2 separate regions of the Homo sapiens genome follow, and region 2 is linked to region 1. Evidence: promoter capture Hi-C in human tissues and cell types (Jung and others, 2019). All regions are on one chromosome and are shown on one strand. Each heading gives the region's core, a stretch centred on a gene start or on the middle of the fragment in contact. The rest is flanking DNA. Distances are from core to core; before and after follow the strand shown.

Region 1 (6,847 bases), core at 1,246-3,745:
TAACATGTTCTTTTACCCTTTGACCTAACAATCCCATTTATAGAAATCTATGCTAAAGACCCACTGGCAAAAGCATATTATATATGCACAAGGAAACTTTTGTATAGCAAAAGACTGGGAATAGCCAACATATCCACTAGTAAGGGCCTGGCTAAATAAACTACAGTACATCCATATATAACCAAAAAGAATAATTATGCCCAGTTCATTTAAAACACAGTATCTTGATTTTACATCCTTAGTTGGATACAATTTTAGAAAAAAGGAAGTACATGCAAAGTTAAACTTCATTTATCTGTTAGCAATATCTCTATTGTTATTCTGTTTTTATTCTTTATCCTGTTATTGCTATTGTTGTGTTTATATACCTGTGAATATAGGTAGATGAAGCAAATAACCATTATGTTAATATTAATATTTATTAATAGTAACATTAATAATAAGGCAATGAAAAGAACCAATATTTTCATTGCCTCCTTGTGTGTAGGAAAAAAGAACCAATATTTTCATCTTAAGAGAAAGGAAGGGCCGGATGTGGTGGCTCACACCTGTAATCCCAGCACTTTGGGAGGCCGAGGCGGGTGGATCACGAGGTCAGGAGTTCAGGACCAGCCTGGCCAAAATGGTGAAACACCGTCTCTACTAAACATACAAAAATTAGCCGGGCCTGCTGGCAGACGCCTGTAATCCCAGCTGCTTGGGAGGCTGAGGCAGAGAATTGCTTGAACGTGGGAGGTGGAGTTTGCAGTGAGCCGAAATTGTGCAACTGCACTCCAGCCTGGGCGACAGAGCGAGACTCCATCACAAAAAAAAAAAAAAAAAAAGAGAAAGGAGACGAAAAACAAGAAGAGCTCAGCTTTAAAAAAGGATCACGACGTAGAAAAAGACACAACACTGAAGATTGTCATGGGTCTTTAAGAAAAGGAAATTTGAGACGGCTAAAACGCCGAACAGTGTGGAGTTTGGGGAAGAGATGTGGCTAAAGACAGCGTAAGCAATTTTTTAAAGTTATGTCTGAAGCAAGAAGAAAAGACAAGGAATAGGTTCAGTTTCATCTCTGATACACCGTTTCTTGTTAAAATTGATGTTTTTTTCTGCAGGCATTTGCTTCCTGAATGATGGTCCCACTCAGCCATCCACCTATACTTTCTACAAAGTCAATTTATACTGATTCTTCAGATCAGTTAATCACTGGTACGTTTCCCCTCCCCGGTCAAGGATCTTTTATTATACGCTATCATAGAATCATATTCCTTTCCTTAGCGCACTTCTCTCAACTGATAAGTGCCGCCATTAATGTACTTACTTGATAAATATATGCCTGCCTTTCCTCTTCCAGGGCCGAAACTGTGCCTGGTTTTGCTCATCATTCTATAGTCTATAGCACGAGTTCAATAAACAGTTGTTAAAGCAACATATTTAACTTACATTTTGTTCCCATCTCTTCACTCAGAGACTTTTCTTTGGATTGGGAAGGGTAAAATATCCGAAGATTTGAACTCCAAAAGAAACAAAATGATTCTATGCAAACGTTTCCTACTTAAAACTCATTCATTGGACAAATATTCACTTAGTCCCTGGCACTATTTGGTAATAGGAATACAGGAGTGCATATGGCAGATAAAGTTCTGTTGCTGCCCTTACCAAGTTTCGTGGGGGTGAGATGTGGTGTTAGTAAATGCATACTATTTTGTCTGTATTTAAATCGAGTCCAAATCTCTCGCTCTACAGCCCGCCTTGGGATGTTTCTTATATCCCAAGAAACAGAATATTTTGATGGGATCGCTGATGTTTCAGACTGCAAAAGCAGCTCAGGGCGTTTGCAGTCGTGCAAGTCAACAAGATAACCGTCTGGACCGGAAGCTGGGCTCCTCCCGGTCTCCTAACGCCAAATCCAACACCAAGCTTCTGCAGCTGCCACCTCCCGTAGACTTCGCATTTCTTCCGCACTCTCCTCTCACGACGGGTCTTCTTTGTTGTACTTAATTTCCTACGCAATAAGATTTCAGCATGACCATCAGTCCCCCAAAGACTAATTCCCACAGAGCCGAAGTTCCCACCAAGGGCCGAGGGTTAAGGTTACTAAAATCAGCGTTTCTGAATCCTGTCTCAAGTTGTCTCATCTGGGCTTCCGTAAGAACGGTTTCTTCATAAGAGGGCCTTCAGCGACAGCCAAGCTCGGAAAAGAACGGGAATAAGTTGTCTTTTATATTTCCTCAAATACTGTGAATGGTCTGAGGCGCAGGTCAGGTGTATTTAAAAACCTTTAAACAGTATTCCCCCGCCCCAAAAACTGGCCTTGAAGGAACAAGTGAAACTCATCCTGCTTTTCATGTTTGCTGGGTTTGCCCGTTACACCCCTTCGCCCGCACTTATCTAGACAGGCAGCTCTCGGCCACCCTCCGGGGTCCTGATTTTGAAAAGAGGAGTGGACCAATCAGATGTGGAGCGCTGTTTCGCGCTGCCATTTGAGCCTGGGCTGAAACTGCGGGTGTGACCCCCCCGTGGTGGCTCTGGGTGTCTGCGGAGGAGCTGGGGGCGGAAGCATGAGGCTAACGGCTTGGCTTCAGTGAACGCACCGGGATGTGCAGGCCGGGAGGTAGAGGCAGGCTGATGGGGGAGGGAACGAGCAGCCTGTGAGACGGGGTGACGGCGGCTACCAGCCCGGGCGGGCACCGGGACTGGAAGAGTTGCCTGAGCAGCCGGCTGGTCCGGCGGCCAGGCTAGGGCGGGGGCGAGCGCCCAGTTGAGCCTGCTGGGGCTGGAGGAGCGAGAAGGGTTTTCTTCACATTTCAGAGCGAACCAGACGGGGACAGTAAGGTTTGGAGGAAGGGGGATCGTTGGAAGTAGCAAGAAGTGGAGAGAATCTGGCAATAGACGAGAAACCGAAAGAATCAGAAAGAAGTCTATGTGAGTAGCTGAAAGCATTGGGTGACCAGAAAGAAGGTCGGTGTAAGTGAAGGAAGAGTGAGGTGTGGCTGGATCAAAGGGCTAAGAGAAGCGGGTCTGTGTAAGTGGATGTGAGTGAGGATCAAGGAAAAGCCGTGGAAGTGGCCGGGGGTCGGGGCCGCAGAAGTGCCAGACGGGGCCGGAAAGCAGCCGAGCGGAGTTCAAATTTGAGAGCGTTTGGAAATTGGAAGACTTGGTGGCGAACGAGGGTCAGGACCTGCATCCTGCCTCAGAGAGTTATCGACGTATCCGGAATGTGGGATCAGAGGCTGGTGAGGTTGGCCCTGTTGCAGCATCTGCGGGCCTTCTATGGTATTAAGGTGAAGGGTGTCCGTGGGCAGTGCGATCGCAGGAGACATGAAACAGCAGCCACGGAAATAGGGGTAAGTTCTGTGAAAAGGGATTTAGGTTTAAAAGAAAGGGCACACCCTTTATCATCACTTACTACCAGATCGTGCTAAAATGTTCACTCTGTGTATCAAAAAGAATGGTTAGGTGTGTAATTCAGTTCAGATGGTCGATTGCTGATATTTAAAAAGTGACATTCTTGTTTTTTTTCCCCCAAGGATTTTTGATCATTGAGAGAAAGTTGCAGGATTTTCCAACTTCAGCACTATTGACATTTTGGATTAGATAATTTTTGTTAGGGGAAGACGAAATGCTGTTCTGTGAATTGTGGGATGTTTAGCGGGATGTCTGTCTTTTACCCACTAGATGCTGGTAGCATCTCTCAGTTGTGACAATTAAAAATGTCTCCGGATATTGCCAGCTTACTGTATTTGGAACAGGTAGTACGTTGGGAGGGACAAAAACTCTACCCCTCCACCCTTGTTTTAGAGTAAGGTTGTAGAGGGACAAGGGAGACCAGTGCATTTTCTACATGAATCTGTAGATGAAGAAGTATGACAGAACATTAGAAATAGGCTTCAAATGATGACTGCATATTCACTAATTTGGGAAACAGATTTGCTGCTTGGCCATGTCATACTTTTGGGACAGTAAATTTTTTTTTGTATGAGTAAATTGAGAAGCCAGAGTGGAATAATTGAGAAGTTGTTGATGTTTTGGTGGTTGAAATAAAGGGATTTTGAATGAGATTTTAATAGCTCTGCCACATAATCAGGAATTCCATTGTGAAAAATAAGCTGAATGTAAAGCATTTTATTTTAAATTTATGTGCCTAATTTATATGGTACTTCCTAGTACTTGGAGACAAGCTAATAAAATTAATATACGTTGCTTTTAATAGTTTATGGTTTCTTAAAAAAAGTGCTTGGAGAAGAAAACCACTAACAAAAGTAATATGTGTGCCTCTTAATCGCTGATAAACTTTGGAGAAGTTATTTTTGTTGGTAGCAAATTAATGGCAATACATGTACTTACATTTAAAAAGCTACAGTGATTTTTTTCTGATTGTAAAACTGGCTTTCCAAGATCTCAAATGTAGCTGATTTTGTAAGTATATGGAAGAGTTTGTATATGGACTTTTTTTCACCCCTTTTCTTTTCTTTTCCTTTTTTTTTTTTTTTTTTGAGATGGAGTCTCCCTCTGTCGCCCAGGCTGGAGTGCAGTGGCGCGATCTTGGCTCACTGCAAGCTCTGCCTCCCGGGTTCACGCCATTCTCCTGCCTCAGCTTCCCGAGTAGCTGGGACTACAGGCGCCCGCCACCACACCTGGCTAATTTTTTGTATTTTTTAGTAGAGACGGGATTTCACCGTGTTAGCCAGGATGGTCTCGATCTCCTGCCCTCGTGATCCGCCCGCCTCGGCCTCCCAAAGTGGTGGGATGGCAGGCGTGAGCCACTGCACTCGGCCTTTTCACCGCTTAACAAGAAAAACTGTTGCCTGTTTTCAGAGTCAGATAGACCTGAGTTTGAGTGCTGTTCCACCCCTACTACATCTGTAAACTTGGGCTGCTTGTTTGATTTCCCTAAGCTTCAGTTTTATATATATAAAGTGGGAACGTATTTCTCCTTGGATTATTTAGGGATTTTTAAAAAGTGAAGCTCTTTATGTAGGCCTAGCACAGTGCGGGTAACATGCCACTTCTTCATCTAATGATAGTTGTCATATCATTGGTCTGCCTCCTAATTGGTAATCATGCCATATAAATTCAGCTAGAAACACTTATAAGAATATTCTAATGAAGAAATATAGAAGATCATTGTGTTAGGAGATCTAATGGGATAGTTTGTTTGAAAACAATTTCTTTAGCCGACTGGTGTTTGTTAGCTAACTGTAGTTTTAAGTTTTAAAAACATTTTATGAGATTAAATTATAGTGGTTACTTGTGAGGCCAGTTATTCTAAATAATAAGACTTAAGGAAAAAAACACGCTGAATTCTAGTTATATATAGCAGAAGTAGACTTACCAGCTTAAGTATCTGGTTTATTTTTACATTTGGTTTGGCTGCACAGTATCAAGAAAATTCTGATTTACCCAATAAAGGGGTTGCCCATACTAACATTTTTTAAAATAGTTCAGCTTAAAATGATGATCATAATATTAACAAATATTTTTTGAATGCTTACTGTGTGTCAGACACTGATACAAGTGTTTTGTATGTTTTAATTTATTTAATTCTTCCTACACCTCTATGACTTAGGATCTGTGTGAGGATACCGAGGAACAGAATGTTAATTTGATCCAGGTCACTCAGCTGTTAAGCAAGAGTTAAGATGTAAAGCCTGGCATTTTTGTGTGTGCGATGGCTCACGCCTGTAATCCCAGCATTTTGGGAGGCCGAGGCGGGTGGATAACGAGGTCAGGAGATCGAGACCATCCTAGCTAACACGGTGAAACCCCCCCCCCCCCGCCCCACGTCTCTACTAAAAATACAAAAAAATTAGCCAGGTGTGGTGGCGGGCGCCTGTAGTCCCAGCTACTCGGGAAGCTGAGGCAGGAGAATGGGTGAACCCGGGAGGCGGAGCTTGCAGTGAGCCGAGATTGCGCCACTGCACTCCAGCCTGGGCCACAAAGTGAGACTCCCTCTCAAAAAAAATACACCTGTCATTTTTGCCTTCAGGAGCCTACTCTCTTAAGCACTTACTATACTATACTGTCTTTTCAGCTTACAATATTTGTAAATTAATTGGAGCCAGGTGCTTGAAAGGGAATTAGTAAAATTTTGTTACTGTGTTGCGTCATTGACAATGCTGAGTGGTTTTTATTGTAAATATAAAGTTAAATATAATGCTCATAAAACATAAATACTTCTTGGTTGATAACTTGTGACATCAAAAAAAGTACTTCAGCATTCACAGAGCAGATGCATGTAAACTAAATTAACATGTGAGATTATGCATACCCACTTAAGTTTGAATAACCAGACATTTACAGGCTTGAATTTACCTTTCAGTGCTGTGGAAAGCGACACATTTTTAAGAGGTTCGAATGCATGCACAAAGATAGTGGCAGATTCTTTATTCTTCAGTGTGCAAAAACATTCAAGTTAACCAACACACAGCTTTACTCTTGGGATCTTCAGTGTATTAAAATTTGAATGTGAGGTTTTAAAAATGGGTTTCCAGCTAGTTAAATGAAGTTTGACTTAAATATTTGCACACTCCTGCCTTGCTTACTGCAGGGCATGGTTTGAAAAGCACTCTTCTATAGAAGGTGGAAAATGTATTAGGTATAAAAATAACTTCTTCTGATGTAATTTTAGGAAGACTCAATGAATGACAGGAATTAGTGTTTTGCTTTTCAATTGACTTAGTCTTTTGTGTAAGTATTTATAAGGTGACCAAAAGAAAGTATCTAGTAAGTATTTATAAGGTCATTAAAGCAACCTATAGTATTTTGGGGTAAATGTTAGTGTTTTGGACCAAATTCTGTTTTAAGAATTTACTGACTAACCACTAACCAAATTGACTTTATGATCAGATTGGAAACTTGA
Region 2 (6,862 bases), core at 938-3,437, 250 kb after region 1:
AACGAGAGCAGCTCCACTGCTGTGCTCCAAGGCCCTCTCTGCAGCCCCACGGGCTGGGATTCCCACGTGGCCTGTAAGAATTAAACTTCCCCACATGATCAAAGGAGAGGGCTGCCCTCCGACGGTCCCCACAGAGCCACGCGCCCCGGAGGCCAGGCAGCTTGCCTGCTCCAATTTATTGACTTGGCTTATCCGAGATGCTTTCTAGCAGACAAATGGGAGACCTGAAGGCTAATTAATGATGACACCGGAGACTGGCAGTGCATAAAGGAGAGAGGTCATGGACAGATCCACAAATGTCCTTCACTGTTCAACCGGAAGACTCGCATACGATATTGCTAGACCACCAAGGTTGCCTCAGGCGTGGGCTGTGCCAGGAGCTCCAGTTAAAAGCCAAAGTCACCCCAGGTTCTCTTTCTGTTATTTTTCTCTTTACACAATTTTTTGGCAATTAAAAATATATTAATTTCCGAAGTTAGTTACTACTAAGTGATCACTGTGAGACAGAGATGAAATATTAAAAACCAATACATAGTGAAATAACTGAGACTACATGGAGAATATTTTCACTTACAGGTTAAACACTGGTGGAGTATTTTAGTGAAAGGAAAGATATGGCCTAGACTATTTTAATATTTCAGATATTAGGCTGTTAAGGTCAGAATTATCTGTTTTTTGTTTTTCACCCCTAAGAACAAGGGAATAAAGCTTATTAAGCCACTTAAAAAGCCTAGGCAGGTTAGAAAAATGTAGCAGTAAGACCCAGATATAATTCATCAAAATCAAATACGTTTAATTGCTTTGTAAATCAAATGTATGTGGGCAATTGGTATGAAGATATGAAACTTGTTTCTTTTTGTATGAGCTGAAGGACCTGTGGGCTTAGTTAAGTCAGAATACAGTTTTAGAGGAAAGGAAAGGTTTATCAGGCTATCTGCTTTTCCAGAGTTCTCTCTTCTTCCCTGTCTGGTTACCTAAGTCTTACCCCACCCTTCCACAGTCCTGCGCCAGTTCTGCCTCTTCCTCACTTTTACAAGATCCATGTCCTGTTCACAAGCTCCCTGCTCAAAGGACCGCCATAGAAAATGGCTGCAGCAACATATGGAATTTTTTTACTAAAGCAAATTCTTGTATTATATCAATGGGGCTTAGATGAGAGACATAAAGTGAAGCCAGAGATCAAAAGCCTAGAATGCTTGGTTAAGGAGTTTATCATACAGGAATCCATTCAATAAATACATCAGTTCGGCTAGGCGCGGTGGCTCACGCCTGTAATCCCAGCACTTTGGGAGGCCGAGGCGGGCGGATCACGAGGTCAGGAGACCATCCTGCCTAACACGGTGAAACCCCATCTCTACTAAAAATACAAAAAATTAGCTGGGCGTGGTGGCGGGCACCTGTAGTCCCAACTCGGGAGGCTGAGGCAGGAGAATGGCGTGAACCCGGGAGGCGGAGCTTGCAGTGAGCCGAGATTGTGCCACTGCACTCCAGCCTGGGCGACAGAGCGAGACTCCATCTCAAAATAAATAAATAAATAAAATAAAATAAATAAACACATCAATTCAACACATGTCTACTGAGCACCTACTACGTGCCATAAATTGTGTCAGATATTGGGGTTCCATCAGCAAAAGAAACAGACTAAATTCTCTGCCCTCAGACATTATAGTGAATGGGTCACCAACTAAGATTTCTTAATGGGTATGGCACGCAGTAATTATTGTTTCTAGTAACTTGAACTGCAGGCAAACCTACGAGTTATTTCCTTCCATGTTCATCTTTTCTACTTTAATCCCTTTAGTAAGAACAGGACCGTCTAGTGCACTTCCTGGTGGTGGGGTGGGAGGACGTGGTTAGAAAAAGTGAATGTCCTTTTAGCTTCCTGCCCCCAAACACACTTTTATCAAAACAAATGTAAAAACAAATTCAGAACTCAGAATCTCAATATTAGCTTAACTTGCACAATTTTCTTCTTATGGCATTGGCCTTAAACTGACTAAGGAATTACATGAAATGCAATGTAATAAAATACTAAAGTTAGAACAGTAATATTTTATTTTGGCTAGCAGCAATGCATGGACTTCTATGAAAGGGGAAAATCATACTTACAATTAATAAAATATTAGATATTTTTTCATTTGCTTATTAAAGCTTGGCACAAATGAGAAGGTACTATTTTGTGGCTATCTACTGTACACACTTTTTTATAAGGCCATATAGAAAAGGCCACACAAAGGGAGGTTTCAAGTTGATTTAAGCCAAAAACAAATGACAGAAGCCTGCAATAAAAAGTACCTATTTCATGTTCTTGAGGTCTGATGCTACACAGCAGGAGTATTTTAAATCTTGGCAGGGTTAAGAGTAGGGAGTGGTATTACTGGAAATCACAGGGTGAGGATAACTAGGAGAGGGCAAAGGGGAAATCTATTCAAGGAGACACCGACATAAGTTAGATTTTGAAAGGGACTGCTACACCCATTTTCTACTAAATAGCCCTTCAAAGCCCACATTTCTCAGCTCAAATCAGACAACTGTGCATTAATGACCCATATGTGGAAAATCTATATGTAACCAAAGGTGTTTTCCTTCTTTAACCTTGGTTTGGGGATTCACCTGACATCATATGCAAATTTTTCCTCCTAATGACTCTATTCATCCAAAGGCAAGACACTATATTTAAAGTGGTCAAAAAACTCCGAATTCCCAGTTGTCCATTCAAGTTAAAACACAGGCTTTAGACACATGGAACCCAGGTCAAAATATTATCTCAGAATAATGTAGCTACATACATGGACTTAGACAAACAAGTGCCTTTTTATAGACAAACAAGTGCCTTTTTATATCTACACATACATAGTGTCTATGCCTCAAAAGCTAATTAGAACATTGTACTTAGTGAATAGAGCTTTAGTATACTCCAAGAAGTAGAAACAATCCAAATGCCCATCCATCGTCTGATAAATGGATAAATAAAATATACTTTATACACAGAATGAAATATTTGGCCATTAAAACAAATGAAGTACAAGTACATACTACTACATAGAAGAACGTTGAAAACATTATGCTAAGTAAGAAAAGCCAATCACAAGAGACCACATATCCTATGATTCTACTCACATGAAATGTCCCAGTAGGCAAATCTATAGAGACAAAGCGGATTAGTAGTGGCTGAGGACTAGGAGAGAAAGAGGGAGAGAGAGAGAGGTGACAGCTAAGGGGGTAAGGGAGAAAAGTTTTCCTTTTGGAGTAATAAAAATTTCAAAAAATTGATTGTGGCAATGGTTGTACAACTTTGTGAATACACCAAAAGTCATCAGATTGTACACTTTAAATGGGTGAATTATGTGGAATGTGATTTCATCTTAATAAAGCTGCCTAAAGCTAATTAGAAAGTCAGCCTTAAACTGGAACTATAATGAACAGATAAATGAAGAATGCCTCATCTGTACTTCTTTATATAAGGTAAATAATTTTAAAAATCTTAGGTGCAACTATGTCTTCATTATAATACTTACAATATTACTAAACTAGGAATCAAAAGTGGGAAATGAGTTTGAGATGCACATGTAATTGAGAAATTAAACATATTAGTCAATCTTCAAAAAGTAGCAACAAACGTTATTAAAATAAAAGACCTGGCCGGGCAAGGTGGCTCACGCCTGTGATCCCAGCACTTTGGGAGGACAAGGCGGGCAGATCACCTGAGGTTGGGAGTTCGAGACCAGCCTAATCAACATGGAGAAACCCTGTCTCTACTAAAAATACAAAATTAGCCAGGCGTGGTGGCGCATGCCTGTAATCCCAGCTACTCAGGAGGCTGAGGCAGGAGAATCACCTGAACCTGGGAGGCGGAAGTTGTGGTAAGCTGAGATCATGCCATTGCACTCCAGCCTGGGCAACAAGAGTGAAACTCCACCTCAAAAAAAAAAAAAAAAATAAAATAAAATAAAATACCTACTAAAAATAACTGAACTCAATAATAGAAATACAAGTAAAGCATTTAAATTAAAAGTGCTAACTTTTGGAAAATTAAAACAATAGCTTTCGCACATTCTTAATTGTGGCATACAGCTATGTATATATATTTACACATATACACCAACAATTGGTACATTAGAAAAATTTCCCCTTTGAGGAACATCACACAACGGGGCCTGTTGTGGGGTGGCGGGAGTGGGGAGGGATAGCATTAGGAGATATACCTAATGTAAATGACGAGTTAATGGGTACAGCACACCAACATGACAAATCTATACATATGTAACAAACCTGCACGTTGTGCACATGTACCCTAGAACTTAAAGTATAATAAAAAAAAAGAAAAAAGAAAAAAAATTTCCCCTTTGAACTACTCTTGATTTAAAGATGCATTTATTCTTAGTTTTTCATACACTCTATTTGGCTGGAAAAGTTATTTAATATCTGACTCTTAGTTTCTTGATACATAAAATCTTGTGAGGACTAAATAAACATGTGAAAAAAAAGCATTTTGTATGCTGAATAGTAAAACGCTAGCCAAAATATTCTTCAGCTATTTTAAATAATCAAACAGTAGAAAGGCTGGCTAGATAACATACTGTACGCGGCTTTATTCTTTGTTTCCAAGAAGAGCTAAACAATAACAGCAACCTCACAAACTCTTTGAATAACTGACATTCCTAATGTTTGTGTGTTTAATAAACAAATCATGTTACAGTCTAATCATTTTCCCAGTCCAACTGTCTTTTAAAATTTGCAATACTCACTTTTTCCTATTTCTTGTTTCATGACCCACTGAAATTTACTTCCTCCCCATTGTGACACTGAGAAAGCACTCTGAAGTCACTAATTAACCCATCCTGTGGGCAGTGTCCTCATTTTGTATCTCCTTCGCTGACAACCCAGCAGGATTCTGCATCTTGACTACTTCTCCTTTGTAAAACACTTTGTCCCTTAGCGTCTGTGTTCCCCATTGTGGGCTTTCCTCCTACTTCTGCCTGCCCTGTTTCCTATGCAGCCTCATCTTCCTATACAGAGTCATTAAACGTTAAAGTTCTCTAGGGTTTGGCATAAGGCTGCTCCTCCTCCCATGCTATGCTCTCTGTCTAGACAATGTCATCCAGGTAAACATTTCAGTAACCATATCTGGGATGTGTCTCCCAAGTTTACACAGCTAGCCCACAGTTTCACCTCCTACGGAACTCCTGAATTCATTACTCTTCACCAGGCTGCTATAGTCTCAGCCTAACTGTTCTTCCCATATCCACCCTGCCTCTCTCTGATTTGTTCTCCATACCTGAGTCAAAGTGACCTTTATAAAATCTCATTATGCCAGTCCCCTGCTTAAACCTGCAGGCACCTCTATTACTCTGAGAGGTTGTCTTCAATCCCTCAAGCTGGCCTGCAAGGCCCTCCATGCGCTACGTCTTGCCTGCCTTCCCAGCCTCACCCTGCTCTCCCTGCCACAGTGGCCCTTCTTTCCATTCCTCAAACATGCTCACTTCTTCCCATTATGGTGTTCTCCTGCTATGCCACTCTCCTTCACTTCCTAGTAACCAGGACCTAGTCAGTGCTTAGTCATCATTACGACCTCAGCTCAGAAGTCTCATCAGGTTTTTTTTTTTTGAGACGGAGTCTCGCTCTTTCACCCAGGCTGGAGTGCAGTCGTGTGATCTCCTCGGCTCACTGCAAGCTCCGCCTCATGGGTTCACGCCATTCTCCTGCCTCAGCCCCCTGCCCCCCGCTCCCTGTGCAAAGGCTAATTTTTTGTATTTTTAGTAGAGACGGGGTTTCACCATGTTAGCCGGGATGGTCTCAATCTCCTGACCTCGTGATCTGCCCGCCTCGGCCTCCCAAAGTGCTGGGATTACAGGCGTGAGCCACCGCGCCCGGCCATCAGGATTTCTTTTCCACCTTCCATTCTGTGATGAGAGACCCTCTGTTACAAAGTCATAGCACTGTATACCTTTCCCCTTTTCATGATTATTGGATTGTCTCCCTCATTAGGCAGAAACTGTATTTTTCTTACTGTTAAATCTCCAGCATCTACTGTAATGTCTATCTAGTGAAAGCTGTTCCATGGGTATTTGCTAAATAAATGAATAAACTACCAGTTAAAGGGGAGAAACTTACACATGTGCAGTATGGATATTAGTGTCTTGACAGAATTTGGCTGTAGTACATGTACACTCATGTACCTCAGAATGATGCTTCTGTCAATAATGGACCACATATAAAACAATGGTGCCATAAAATTATAATGAAGCTGAAAAATTCTGATAGTCCGGTGATGATGTAGCCTTTGTAACACTGTAGAGCAAGGCATTACCTTTCCTTTGTTTAGATACACAAATGCTTACCATTGTGTTATAATTGCCTACAGTATTCAGCAGAATACTGAATACAGTTACAGTATAGTACAGCCAGTAGTACTGTAATATACTGTTAACTATATTCAGTATTCTACTGAATAATGTTGGGGACTGTAACAGTATAGAAACCTGTGCAGATTTGTAGCGTAGACGCCATAGGCTATACCATCTAGCTTAGGTGTGAAGTAGGCTACACCATCTATGTTTGTGTAAGTACACTCTATGATGTTTGCACAATGATGATATTGCCTAACGACACATTTCTCAGAACATATCCCAGTTGTTAAGTGACACATGACTGTATGTATGTATATGTAGACACAGACATATGCACATACACCGACACGTGAAAAACATCTCTCTTCATTTGTATAATACATGTAGATGGAGGCAGGGGCTGGAGAAGACACAAGTACACTGACATTCACTCATTCACCCACTTTCACTCACATTCACTCATTCAGATACGAGATACACATTTTTTTTTAAATCCCTGTCCGGGTTCCATA

Evidence for each region. The method cuts DNA at HindIII sites, captures the fragments that hold promoters and counts their contacts. A contact is called where the count stands out against the background at its distance.
Region 2: a contact is called between a fragment that was not itself captured here and the fragment with the promoter of ARHGAP11A in region 1, in 4 of the 25 tissues and cell types used here (IMR-90 fibroblasts, dorsolateral prefrontal cortex, lymphoblastoid cells and 1 more).

Annotation. Positions count from the first base shown.
Region 1 is chr15:32,613,009-32,619,855 of GRCh38, forward strand. ARHGAP11A (Rho GTPase activating protein 11A) reads left to right here and starts at 2,496. Exons shown (of 12, transcript NM_014783.6): 1 at 2,496-3,332. The coding sequence starts at 3,204. It overlaps ARHGAP11A-SCG5 (ARHGAP11A-SCG5 readthrough), which reads left to right and starts at 2,468. Exons shown (of 14, transcript NM_001368319.1): 1 at 2,468-3,332. The coding sequence starts at 3,204. ARHGAP11A-DT (ARHGAP11A divergent transcript) reads right to left here and starts at 1,738. Exons shown (of 3, transcript NR_135833.1): 1 at 1,429-1,738. The HindIII fragment of the contact is 9,261 bases long and covers 296-6,847 here.
Region 2 is chr15:32,861,915-32,868,776 of GRCh38, forward strand. All of the region lies in intron 16 of FMN1 (formin 1), which reads right to left. Among named protein-coding and RNA genes, the nearest start is that of GREM1-AS1, 150 kb to the left of the region's middle. The HindIII fragment of the contact is 5,122 bases long and covers 1-4,748 here.